3 separate regions of the Homo sapiens genome follow, and all the other regions are linked to region 2. Evidence: promoter capture Hi-C in 16 types of primary human blood cells and fetal thymus (Javierre and others, 2016). All regions are on one chromosome and are shown on one strand. Each heading gives the region's core, a stretch centred on a gene start or on the middle of the fragment in contact. The rest is flanking DNA. Distances are from core to core; before and after follow the strand shown.

What was found. Contacts are between HindIII fragments. The CHiCAGO score rates a contact against its expected background, and 5 or more counts as called.
Region 1: a fragment that was not itself captured here is called in contact with the fragment with the promoter of SREBF1 in region 2 in 1 of 17 cell types (fetal thymus); the score reaches 6.7 in fetal thymus.
Region 3: a fragment that was not itself captured here is called in contact with the fragment with the promoter of SREBF1 in region 2 in 1 of 17 cell types (fetal thymus); the score reaches 5.3 in fetal thymus.

The regions. Positions count from the first base shown.
Region 1 is chr17:17,349,521-17,352,816 of GRCh38, forward strand. No RefSeq gene overlaps it. Among named protein-coding and RNA genes, the nearest start is that of NT5M, 48 kb to the left of the region's middle. RefSeq lists enhancers at 1,911-2,490, 2,755-3,049. The HindIII fragment of the contact is 819 bases long and covers 906-1,724 here.
Region 2 is chr17:17,834,600-17,838,264 of GRCh38, forward strand. It overlaps SREBF1 (sterol regulatory element binding transcription factor 1), which reads right to left and starts at 2,387. Exons shown (of 19, transcript NM_004176.5): 1 at 2,128-2,387. The coding sequence starts at 2,218. RefSeq lists enhancers at 1,262-2,163, 2,164-3,066, 3,067-3,665 and silencers at 1,766-2,045, 2,236-2,395. The HindIII fragment of the contact is 13,614 bases long and covers 834-3,665 here.
Region 3 is chr17:17,399,314-17,402,915 of GRCh38, forward strand. No RefSeq gene overlaps it. Among named protein-coding and RNA genes, the nearest start is that of MED9, 76 kb to the right of the region's middle. The HindIII fragment of the contact is 1,811 bases long and covers 1,246-3,056 here.

The DNA.
Region 1 (3,296 bases), core at 65-2,564, 490 kb before region 2:
GCATCCGCAAGAGTAACATGCTCTGAATCCTTCAGGAGACGGACTGTTGCGAAACCTTTTAGACTGATAATTGCCATCAGTTTTAAAGGTCAGTTTAGGAACTCCATGCTCCAAATTGCCACATTTGTTCTCTGCTGTTATCATCACTCACCCCGAGGTGGGCAGCTGCTTCAGCCACATAATTTATTTAAAGAAAAAAAAATAATTGCAGGGGCAAAAATGTTTCAGAACATGACCCCACCCGACGGTCTCAAAGCAACTTGCTGTGACGTTAACAAGCACTTCGAGGGGTGCCTGGGGCTGCCGAGGCACTGTGGAGCAGCAGGAGGAGGCCCCGGGGGCCTCAGGTCCCAGCACGGTCTCCTATGTGGAAGAAGGGGCCAGCCCCTGGCTGAGACGCCCTGCAGAGACCCAGGGCTGGGGGGAGCTTGCTGAGGTGGAAATGGGAAGCAGGCGTTGATGAGTGAGGTGCCGTCTGCACCTGGATGCTCAGCCGGCTGCTGCCGTCCCCATTGCACTGACCTTGGCTGAGACCCCAAATTCATGATCGTGTCAACAGTCTCCTGATTGAGGCCAGGCGCAGTGGCTCACGCCTGTAATCCCAAAACTTTAGGAGGCTGAGGCAGATGAATCAGTTGAGGCCAGGAGTTCGAGAGCAGCCTGGCCAACATGGTGAAACCCTGTCTCTACTAAAAATACAAAAATTAGCTGGGCGTGGTGGCGGGCGCCTGTAATCCCAGCTACTCGAGAGGCTGAGGCAGGAGAATCGCTTGAACCCGGGAGGCAGAGGTTGCAGTGAGCCAAGATCGCGCCACTGCACTCTAGCTTGGGTGGCAGAGAAAATTCCATCTCAACAACAAAAAAATTCTGATTGAAATGAAGGTCACTTTCTTGAAAGCTTGGGAAGCTTGTGTTTTGCCTCAGAACCAGTTTTTGAACCCCAGAAAAGAAGATCCACCCCCGTTAGGAGAGCTAGGCCTGGTTCTGCCCCATGGCACATCAGCTCTATCCCTCCCTTATCCACCAGGCTGGCCTCTCAGTGACTCAGCTCTCGGTGAAAGTTGTGATTCATTTGAAAATATTGGAAAGATTCAGAGCTCTAGGACCAGAGCCCCTGGAAGGGGTGACATCCCCCAGGTGGAGAGGGCGCTGGGAAAGCAGGTTTGTGGAGCATGTAGGAATCGTGGCCGCACGCTCAGGTATGTGGGGAATGTGCCCCTGTTTCTCTGTCCTGCCAGAGGGTGGAGGAATCTGACTCCCCTACCTGCTCTTCAGCAGCGGGGCCTCCAGCAGGGGGGCCTCTAGCAGAGGGGCCTTGTCATTGTCCCCATGCTGCTCCCCCTTGGCCCTTCATCCCTGTCTGTGCAGGGTGTCCATCTGTCCTCGGTGAGGGGCCACTGCTGCCTGGCCTCGCCCCCACCCTGGGGACCCTGCTGAGGATGGGAACACTGCTCCTGGCCCTCAGACCTCTCTGGGGTTTGTGGTTCCCCGAGCCTGGGGTTCTGACCAGGGGTGGGCTGACCACAGGTCACCTTCTGAGGGACCCCTGGTATCTCCTGCATGGACTCCTCGAGTGCCTGAGCCCAGGGGGAGAGCAGCCTGGGCCTGTCCAGGGCTCACTGGCCCAGGTTCCCCACCCTAGGCCAGCTCTTCTTGACACATGTAGGCTGTGAGTCCTCACCCCGTGGGGTCGTCAGGCCAGATGAGGCCATGCATGTGAGGAAAGCTTCTGATCCTTCTCCAGTCCACGGCAGTGCCATTCCCACCTGTGGGGGGGAGGAGGCAGGCTCGGGAGGTGCAGTTACGTTCCCGAGGCCATGCGGCGTTCGACCTGGGTCAGCCTTGCTCAGTGTTTCTCAGGAGGCCCTCCTTTTGTCCACGTGGCCTTTTCCTCAGACGTTTTTGTGAAGGACGATGTGGCAGAGCCCTTCTGGCTGGGCCCTCTACCCGTCTCCACCCCAGAGGGCCCAGGGACTGCGCAAGCTGCTGATGGGGACCCCCACACTGAGCGGGGTGTCCCATGCCTAGGAAGGACAGATTCCTTGGCCAGCGTTGCTGAGCCTCTGTCCTGTCACTCACCCCCTTCCAGGCTCCGAGGGATGTGAGGACTTCAGACCACACACTTCCCAGGGCACATGTGTCGCTGGGGATCCCTCATCAGTCCATTTGCACCTGTGCTGTGGGGAGCCGGTCTCTGCTGCACTTGGGCAGCCCGCCCCGGCGGAGGGCAACCCCTTAATGAGCCTTAGCAGGTGGCATGTGGGCCAGCGTGTCCCAGCACGAGACGTTCTTGTGCTGGGTCCCTTCAGCTTTAGCCTCAGTGGGCAATTGGCCCAAGTCCCTGGCTGCTTCCCCACTGCAGCCCCTACCCAGCTTGGGTGGGGTCCTCACTGCCCACCCCGCCCCCCGCCACCTTGGCCCCCTTCCAGGTTCCAGACTTCCACTTGCGTGTGTCAGAAACGCAGCTCAAACCCACCCATGTGCACGTGCGCAAAGCTCGTTGGCCTGGGAGGCCCAGGGCACGCTCACCCCCAGGGGGTCACACAGTCTGACCAGGCTTTCGCGTCCTTCCTGCTCTCTCACTGCACTGTCCGCTTCTGCTTCCCAGCCTGTGGACGCTCCCTGGAGGGCAGAGCAGCTGGCACACCATGCCCATGCTCTGAGCGAGCAGCTGAGCTCTGGCCCACAGTGGTTGCAGATGATGTCGTAGAAAGGGCCCAGAAATAGCGAGGGGTGGTGGTGGCGGCAAACCTGGCAGCAGAGCCTGTGACAAGTGCAGTGACGCCTCACAGCGGGCTCAGGGGGTGGGTGGCCTGGTCTGAAGTCACCATAAGCAGAACAGGCTTCGCACCAGGACATCCGGGTCAATAACAGCCGGCCCCAGGCTGGCGATGACTCATGTTGGAGGGGCTATGGCCAGTGCCGTGGAGGACAGGCGTGGGAGCAGTCTCACCAGATTAAGTTTACTTCCAGCATTTGGGTCTAAACCCTCCAATGAACAGATGGGCTGGGGATGTGGCCTGTTTGCCGCAGGCGACAGAGGCTGCTGTGTGGCGAGTACTGCGGCAGGGCCTGCTCTGCGTCCCGTGCACCCTGGGGTGGCACTAATGGCACTTTTCAGCCCTCGGGTTCCATCACGTGGTCTTCTTACATGGGCTGCTGGGTGGTCACGGGGCGGGGGGTCACATGACTCTGTAAAATGTGTCCTCATTCACGAGGGGCCCAAATGCTGGGGAGGGAGGGAGGCCTGGGGCAGCCCAGCCAGGCAGGGAAGCTCGGCGGCAGGAGCCGCAGCC
Region 2 (3,665 bases), core at 1,137-3,636:
AGACCTTGGGCCACATGGCTGCCCATGCCTGGCCTTTGGTTCTGGAGAGACAATGTTTTTATCCATGAGTCAGTAAGAAAGGTCTGTATCAGACCTCTGGCCCAGACCAGATTCTGTCAGTAAGAAAGGTCTGGGCTGGGAGCGGTGGCTCACACCTGTAATCCCAGCACTTTGGGAGGCTGAGGCGGGCGGATCACAAGGTCAGGAGATCGAGACCATCCTGGCTAGCACAGTGAAACCCCGTCTCTACTAAAAATACAAAAAATTAGCCAGGCGTGGTGGCTGGCGCCTGTAGTCCCAGCTACTTGGGAGACTAAGGCAGGAGAATGGCGTGAACCCAGGAGGAGGAGCTTGCAGTGAGCCAAAATTGCGCCACTGCAGAAAACAAACAAACAAACAAACAAAGGTCTGTATCAGACCTGTGGCCCAGAACGGGTTCTGTTGTCCAACTTGCCCATGAAGGGAGGGTTTGCATCATTTTTCTGGAGGTGGAAACTAAGGTTTAGAGGGTGAGAGGGCTTGAGCAGGATGACAAAGGAAGTGAGGAGTGTCCAGGTTCAAGTTCTGACCCCAAAGCGCATGTCCTCCTGGCTTGGTCACGTTGCCTCTTGGGACTACACTCACTGGGCCCAGTGATGTGGAACTGGTAGTTGAGTCAGGCCCAGATCTCCCTAGGGCTTGGGATTTCAGGGTTCATCACTCCAGAGGGCAGTGAAGGACAACCCCTCGTGCCAGGGATAGGGGAGGCTGTTTTGGAAAAGCCTCACAATCAGGGCCTCTCCTCTGGGGTCCTCCCCTAGCCCAGCCCCAGGGGGAAGGAGGGAGGGCTGGGAAGCTTCTGGGGCTGGCAACCAGCTGGGCTCATCTGCAAGGCTGCAGTAGGGCAGGAGTGGTGGTGGCATAGATATATCTGTTTTGCCAACCCCAGGGTGGCCACGGGTTCCATGGACATGTCCATTCAGGCTGTGAGTCTAGGCATCTTGTTCCTGCGACCTTGGCCTCAGTTTCCTCATCAACCAAGTGCAACTTAGCTAGTGCTGCTAAAACTCCTGCACAGAAACCATGCAGGCAATTTGCTAGGGGCTTCCGTTTGCTCTATCTACAAAATGGAAGCAACGGGCCTCCTAATTGGCACTTGGTGCCACCATTGGCCCCAAACCCCTTCTCATCACAGCCAGGGTGATGCTCCAAAGATGGAAGCCGGTGCCACTGTTCTGCTCCGCCCTTTCCCTGGCCGACCAAGTCGGTTTGCGTCCTCCTCCTCCCTGACCTCACTCCTTTGCAAGCCTCTAACTCCTCACACTTAGGCCCTGCCTCGAGGCCTTTGCCCTTCCCTTGCCGTGGCCTGGAAAACATCTTTCCTTGCTGGTCCTGGGGGTGACCCTCAGGTCTCAGCTTAGAAGTCCCTGACCGCTCTACCCAAAGTAGCCACATCCCTGCCCTCCCCCAGCCTCGCTCCACCCAAGGTACAACTAAATACCCGTTTGGTTTCCCGGGAGATTTTTGTGTTCCCTAAAAGAGGGGGTACCCAGGTCTGTCTGTAAACCCTCGGTGCCTAAGACGGGGCCTGGCATTCGGTGGATGTCAGTGAATGAGTGCGGAGGCTGTGCCCGTCGCAGACCGGGAGAACCCGACACGAGGCGGGGGAAGGGCGCGAGGCAGCGCCCATGCGCATGCGCAAGAGCTCCGACGCCGAGCTGAACTCTCGGGCCGGAGGGAATGACCGTGAGTAACCTCGCAATTACGTCACGGCTGGGGCTGGGGCGGAGCTTCGGCGACGCCTGGGTCCCCAGCTTCAGCCGTGGCCATCACAGGGCTGGAGAGTCACCGGTCGGGCGGCACCCGGCCTGGGACGCGTAGAGGCGCACGTGTCCCGGCCCGGAGCCGCCAAGGGACCCCGGCCCGGCCCAGGAGCCCTCACCCACAAGCGCGCGGCCCGAGACGCTAGCGCGGGAACCAGGGAGGCTCGGTGAGGCTCGGGACACCGAGCTCAGAGACACCGGGAAGTCCCGCGCGAGCACAGCACGGAGCTGGCGCCCGTGGGGGAGACAAAGGCCAGGGAGACACCTGCGCGCCCCCTACTCGCGCCACCCGGCGCAGCTTCAAGCCCTGCCCGCCCTGACGCACCTTCGATGTCGGTCAGCAGCGCCGCGTCCAGATCGCACGGCTCGCCCAGCGCCTGCTCCAAAGCCGCCTCGCTGAAGGGTGGCTCGTCCATGGCGCAGCCGCCTCCTCCGGGAGGCCCGCCGGGCCCGCCGCCTCGTACGGCCCTTCCTAGGGAGCGCCGCCGCGGCCCCGGCTCTCAGTCGCCGCCGCCGCTCCGCGCGTTCGTGTCCTGCCCTGGCCTCAGAGGCGGCCCGGCGCCGGCGAAAAGTTCCTCGGAAACTGGGTTCCCCCGGCCGCAGCTCTGCTGGGCGGTCGAGGCGGAGGCGGGGCCTTTCGGGGAGGACCCGCCCTCCCAGATAGACGGCCCCGCCCCACCTTGAGAGAGCGGGGGACCCCTGATCCCCGGTCTGCGCCACAAATCTCCCCTCAGCCGGCCCCTCCTCCAGAGCGCCCTCCAGTCATTCATTTTATCCAGCCTCGCGCACAATGGCAGCGGCCTCTGGCCGGCTGCTGCGGGAACGCGGGCAAGCCGAGCCCCCTCTCTGGGCCTCTGTTTCTCCAGCACCAAGCAAGGAAGCCGAGTGGAAGCCCCAGGCCTGGGCCCATCCCAAACTTCATTTCCTCATTTCCTAGATTTGACTCTTTAGAACAAGACAGACCAGGATCCAAGTTATAGGGGTCCCAGGCCTGCTGTGTTGTGAGCAGGCCTGATGTAACTGCTGGGCCAGTTACATCACTCTGCCTCAATTTTCCTCATTTGTAACATGGGCCTAATGATGCTTTCTCACGGGCAGGCTGGGAGGCTAGTGACAATGTGGAGGGGAGCATGACCTGTGAGATCAGCCTGCCCCCTCTCTGCAAAGAAACCAGAAGATTGGCCTCTTGAGGACAGGAGTGGCCAAAGAAAGAGGCTGGAATTTCGTCATCTGGTTTCCTCCCAGATCCAGCTGTAGGGATAGGATACCAGTGGGCCCAGTGCAGCTCCTGAAGGAGGAAGCCAGTACCCAAGGAAGACTGGCCCCAGGGCTGTCTGACCCCAGATTTGGCACTTATTCCCAGGAGCAGCCAGGATAGGGGCCGCAAGGAAGAGGTAGCTGTGCTTTAGATCAGAGCCAGGCTGCCCTGGATCATCACAAGCTGGGACTAGATCAGAGCAGGCAGCCCTGTTGAGAAGAGGGCTGGAAACCGAACCTGGTTCTGTGGCCTAGGGACAGAGCCAGGTGGGGCAGGAAGGAGGGAAGGGGTCCCAATGAGGTGGGTTGAAATAAACCAGAATTAACATTCAGGAATCTGAATGTGATAAGGCAGTGAGCTCCCTGTCCCCAGAGGTATGCAAGCAGAGAGAAGCACCCTTGGTGGAGGGCAGTCCAGGAAACTCATCAGGGGCCTGGGCCTCAGGCCTTCCCGACCCCAGACCTTCATAAGTCAAGCCATCCTGCAGACTGCCTTGCTCAAACTCCAGATATAGCCTATCTGGCCACGCCCTAAGCAGGAGTAACATTCATGATGCATTTTAGAAGGGGTGTGTGGGGGAGAGAAGCCACAGAGCCCAAGTCCCT
Region 3 (3,602 bases), core at 901-3,400, 440 kb before region 2:
CACAGGTCCCAAGGCTGGCTGGGACTCTGTGGGACTTGAAGCCCAATGCTGGAGCCCACGTCCCTCACTGCTACTCCCTGCTGCGGCCCTGACTCACCCCTTCCAGCCTGCCCACTACTCTCAGCCCTTCCAGGCTGCCCACTACCCCGCCTGATGCTGGGTCCTAAGCCTGTGGGCTCCGGCCCAGCCCAGCTGTGCGTGGATCATAGAGTTGAATGGTGGCTCACTGGTCTCCCGCTCCCACCCCTGCCCCCACCCACACACTGCTAGTTTTCCTTCTAGCAGTCAGAGGGACGCTGTTGAAAGTCATCCTCCTTCCTCCCCACAAACCCTCCAGGGCTCCCACCTCCCTCAGGATGAGGCCAGAGTCCTCCCACTAGCCCCCGTGAGTGCTCTGGCCTGGTGGCATGCCTGCTCCCCTTGCTGCCTGCTCATTTCATTCTGGCCACTCACGGTACTGCCTCAGGGCCTTCGCATTGGCTGTACCCTCTCCTGCAATGCTTTTCCACACTACACAGACAGAACTTGCTCCCTCACCTCCTTCAGACTTTGTTCCACTGCAGCATTCTCAGTAAGCCTTCCTCGAGCGCCTTGTGGTAGAGAGGTACAGAAATACCCTCTAGGGTGGGAAGAAAAGCAGCCAGCCTGGGGCCCCAGTCAGGGCCTCAAGATGTGCCCTTATGTTGCTCCGATCCTGCCCTGTCTCAGGGTGTGCCCTGCTCTCAGATGTGCCTGCCGCTGACGACCATTCCCACTCCGACAAGGAGGCTGCAAAGGCTGTAGCACCCAGGGATGAGGATGAAGCATTTTTATTCTTCCCACTGTAAGACGAAGTAGCATGCGTAAGAAGCCACGTTGGCTCATTTCTGCTTGAACCCCTGACTCTGTGACAACGTGCAGCTCTCTGGAAAGATGCTTTGAAGGCAAAGCAGGATGAAGCGCCCGGCCCCGCACGTCTCTTGCCTGAGTCACTTGATTCCTTAAAAGAGAAGAGCTCTAGTCCTTGCCTTTCTGACAGGCTTAATGACGATGCCTCTGCCATCTATAACCAGAGGTGCTCTTACACCCACACCTTGATGGGCTGCTGCTTCAACGTAACTTCTGAGCAAGTCCGATGTGATTTTGCACTTGCTGAACCTCCACCACCTGTATGTAAGCCGTGGGCTTCAACAGAACTGCCCTGAGGCAGTAGATGTGGTCTGGAGTCCTCAGACTCCTGAATGAAATGAACTTTAGTTCTTCGAAAGCTTGATTTTGTTTTCGTTGTCAACACTGGGAAATTGGGCTTAGAGGGGCTTCCAGGGGCCTCTTTGCCCTCCAGCTTTCCTTGCCTCCTCTTGTCTCCTGATTTGCTCTTATGTTTCTCTACCTTCCAGGAACCCGAGTTGCTAAGCTCCTAGCTCCAGCCTGTCCCACCAGCGGGGGCTCCAAGGGGCTCAGGCTTCCCAGAGTCCAGTGCCCACATAGCAGACAAACCCACATCGTGTGCCCGAGTCTCCTGGCCTGGTTTAGGCATGTGATTACACTCATGGGGTCTGTGTCTCTTGCTCGGATTTAACCACATACCCTCCCAACCCGCCAACTAGGTTTCAATGCAAGGGAAGGCCAGATCCCTGTATGTCATGTCTAACCCACACACCCACGTGAGCGCATGTCTGTGCACATGGAGCGTGTGTCTGGGGTCCCGATGGCAGTGTTTACACAGGAACCTCTGTCCAGTGAGCAGGCACACACGCACGTCCTGGGCATCTGGTGCTAGAACTCTCAGGAGTGAGAATGGGGTAAGGGGCAGAGAGTCCTTTACAGTGGGCCACCAGGGCACCCCCACTGGCGGCATGGACCCACCCCCTCAGGGGGCATAGAAAATATCTGGAGCCTAGGTTGAGGGTATGAACGTCCCCAGGGAGAAGGAAGGTCATCAGTGAATGTAGAGTGGGCAGAGTTGCCCCTTCCAGGGGAGTGAGCAAGGGGCACATCCCGTCAGTGCTGGGTCCACCGAGGGCTTGGGGGCTGCCATTAGCCCATGTGGTGCGTTGTGTGAAGGAAGAAAGCGCCCTCTAATGGTGGCTGCAGTCCCAAGGGTTGCAGGGCTTGGCTAGCGGAGCATGGACTGAATGTCAATGAGCACTGCGCCTTTGGCAGGATGCCCTTGGGCAGTGCACAGCCTGTACCGCTGTACAGGGCATCCGTGGGGGAGGCGGGACTTGTGGAGACACATCAGACCAAGGTCAGCTCCAGTGTGAATGGGGGAAGTGAGGGAACCCGAGGGCAGCAAGAGGTGGAGAGGCATCCAAGAAAGGCCCAGAGGATATGTAGGCTGGGTCCCCACCAGCAGTCACGTGAGTGCCTGGCAAGACCATGAGTCAACATCCCAGCACTTGGGGTGGAGTGAGGTCCACACACTCACTCCTCTGGTGCCACCACAGCTCAGGGGGCCTCTTGTCTGCACGCTGAGCCAGGACTGGCCACGATGGAGGGGGCCAAAGAACAAGAGAGCCCTGCTCTCTAGTTAAAGAGAAAATATGCACCCACACGGAACATGTTTAAAAATGTTCTTCACAAGTTAAACCTAGAGTCACCATATGGCCCAGCAATTCCACTCCGAGGTGTCTACACAAAAGAATTGAAAACAGGTGGCCGGGCATGGTGGCTCACGCCTGTAATCCCAGCACTTTGGGAGGCCGAGGCAGGCAGATCACGAGGTCAGGAGATCGAGACCATCCTGGCTAACACGGTGAAACCCCGTCTCTACTAAAAATACAAAAAATTAGCTGGGCGTGGTGGCAGGCGCCTGTAGTCCCAGCTACTCAGGAGGCTGAGGCAGGAGAATGGCGTGAACCCAGGAGGTGGAGCTTGCAGTGAGCCGAGATCGCGCCACTGCACTCCAGCCTGGGCAACAGAGAAAGACTCCATCTCAAAAAAAAAAAGAAAACATGTATTTGAACAAAAACTTATACATAAGTGTTTACAGCAGCAGTATTCATAACAGCCAAAAGGTGAAAGCAGCCCAATTGTGCATCCACAGATGAGTGGTAACAACTGCAGATGTGGATCCAAGCTTGGACACTTCTTACCTTCCAGACCCTGGACAAGTTCTGCAGCCTCTCGGACCCTCAGTCTCTTCATCTAAAAAATGCAAACGACAGTGCCCAGTTCTTGGGTGGTTGGGAAAACTAAGCCTACATACATAAGGTGTCAGATGCCCTGTAGGTCCTCACGGAGGTACGATATACCTGTACGATGGGATATTATTCAGCCACAAAAAGGTACAAGACAAGTGGACCTTGAAAACACTATGCAGAGGGAGGATGGCAGTCACAAGAAATCACATACAATTCCACTTATATGAAATATCCAGAATAGGTAAACCAACAGAGACAGGAAGCAGACTGCTGGGTGCCTGGGGCCGGAGGAAGGGAGGAGTGGGGAGTGACAGCTCATGGGAATGGAGTTCCTGTCAGGGGATGAAAGTGCTCGGGAGCTAGATAGAGGTGATGACTGCACAGCACTGAGAATGTACTAAATGCCGTGAAATTGTTCACTCTAAAACTGTTAGTTTTATAGTGTGTGGATTTTACTTCAATTTAAAGAAATCTCATGCC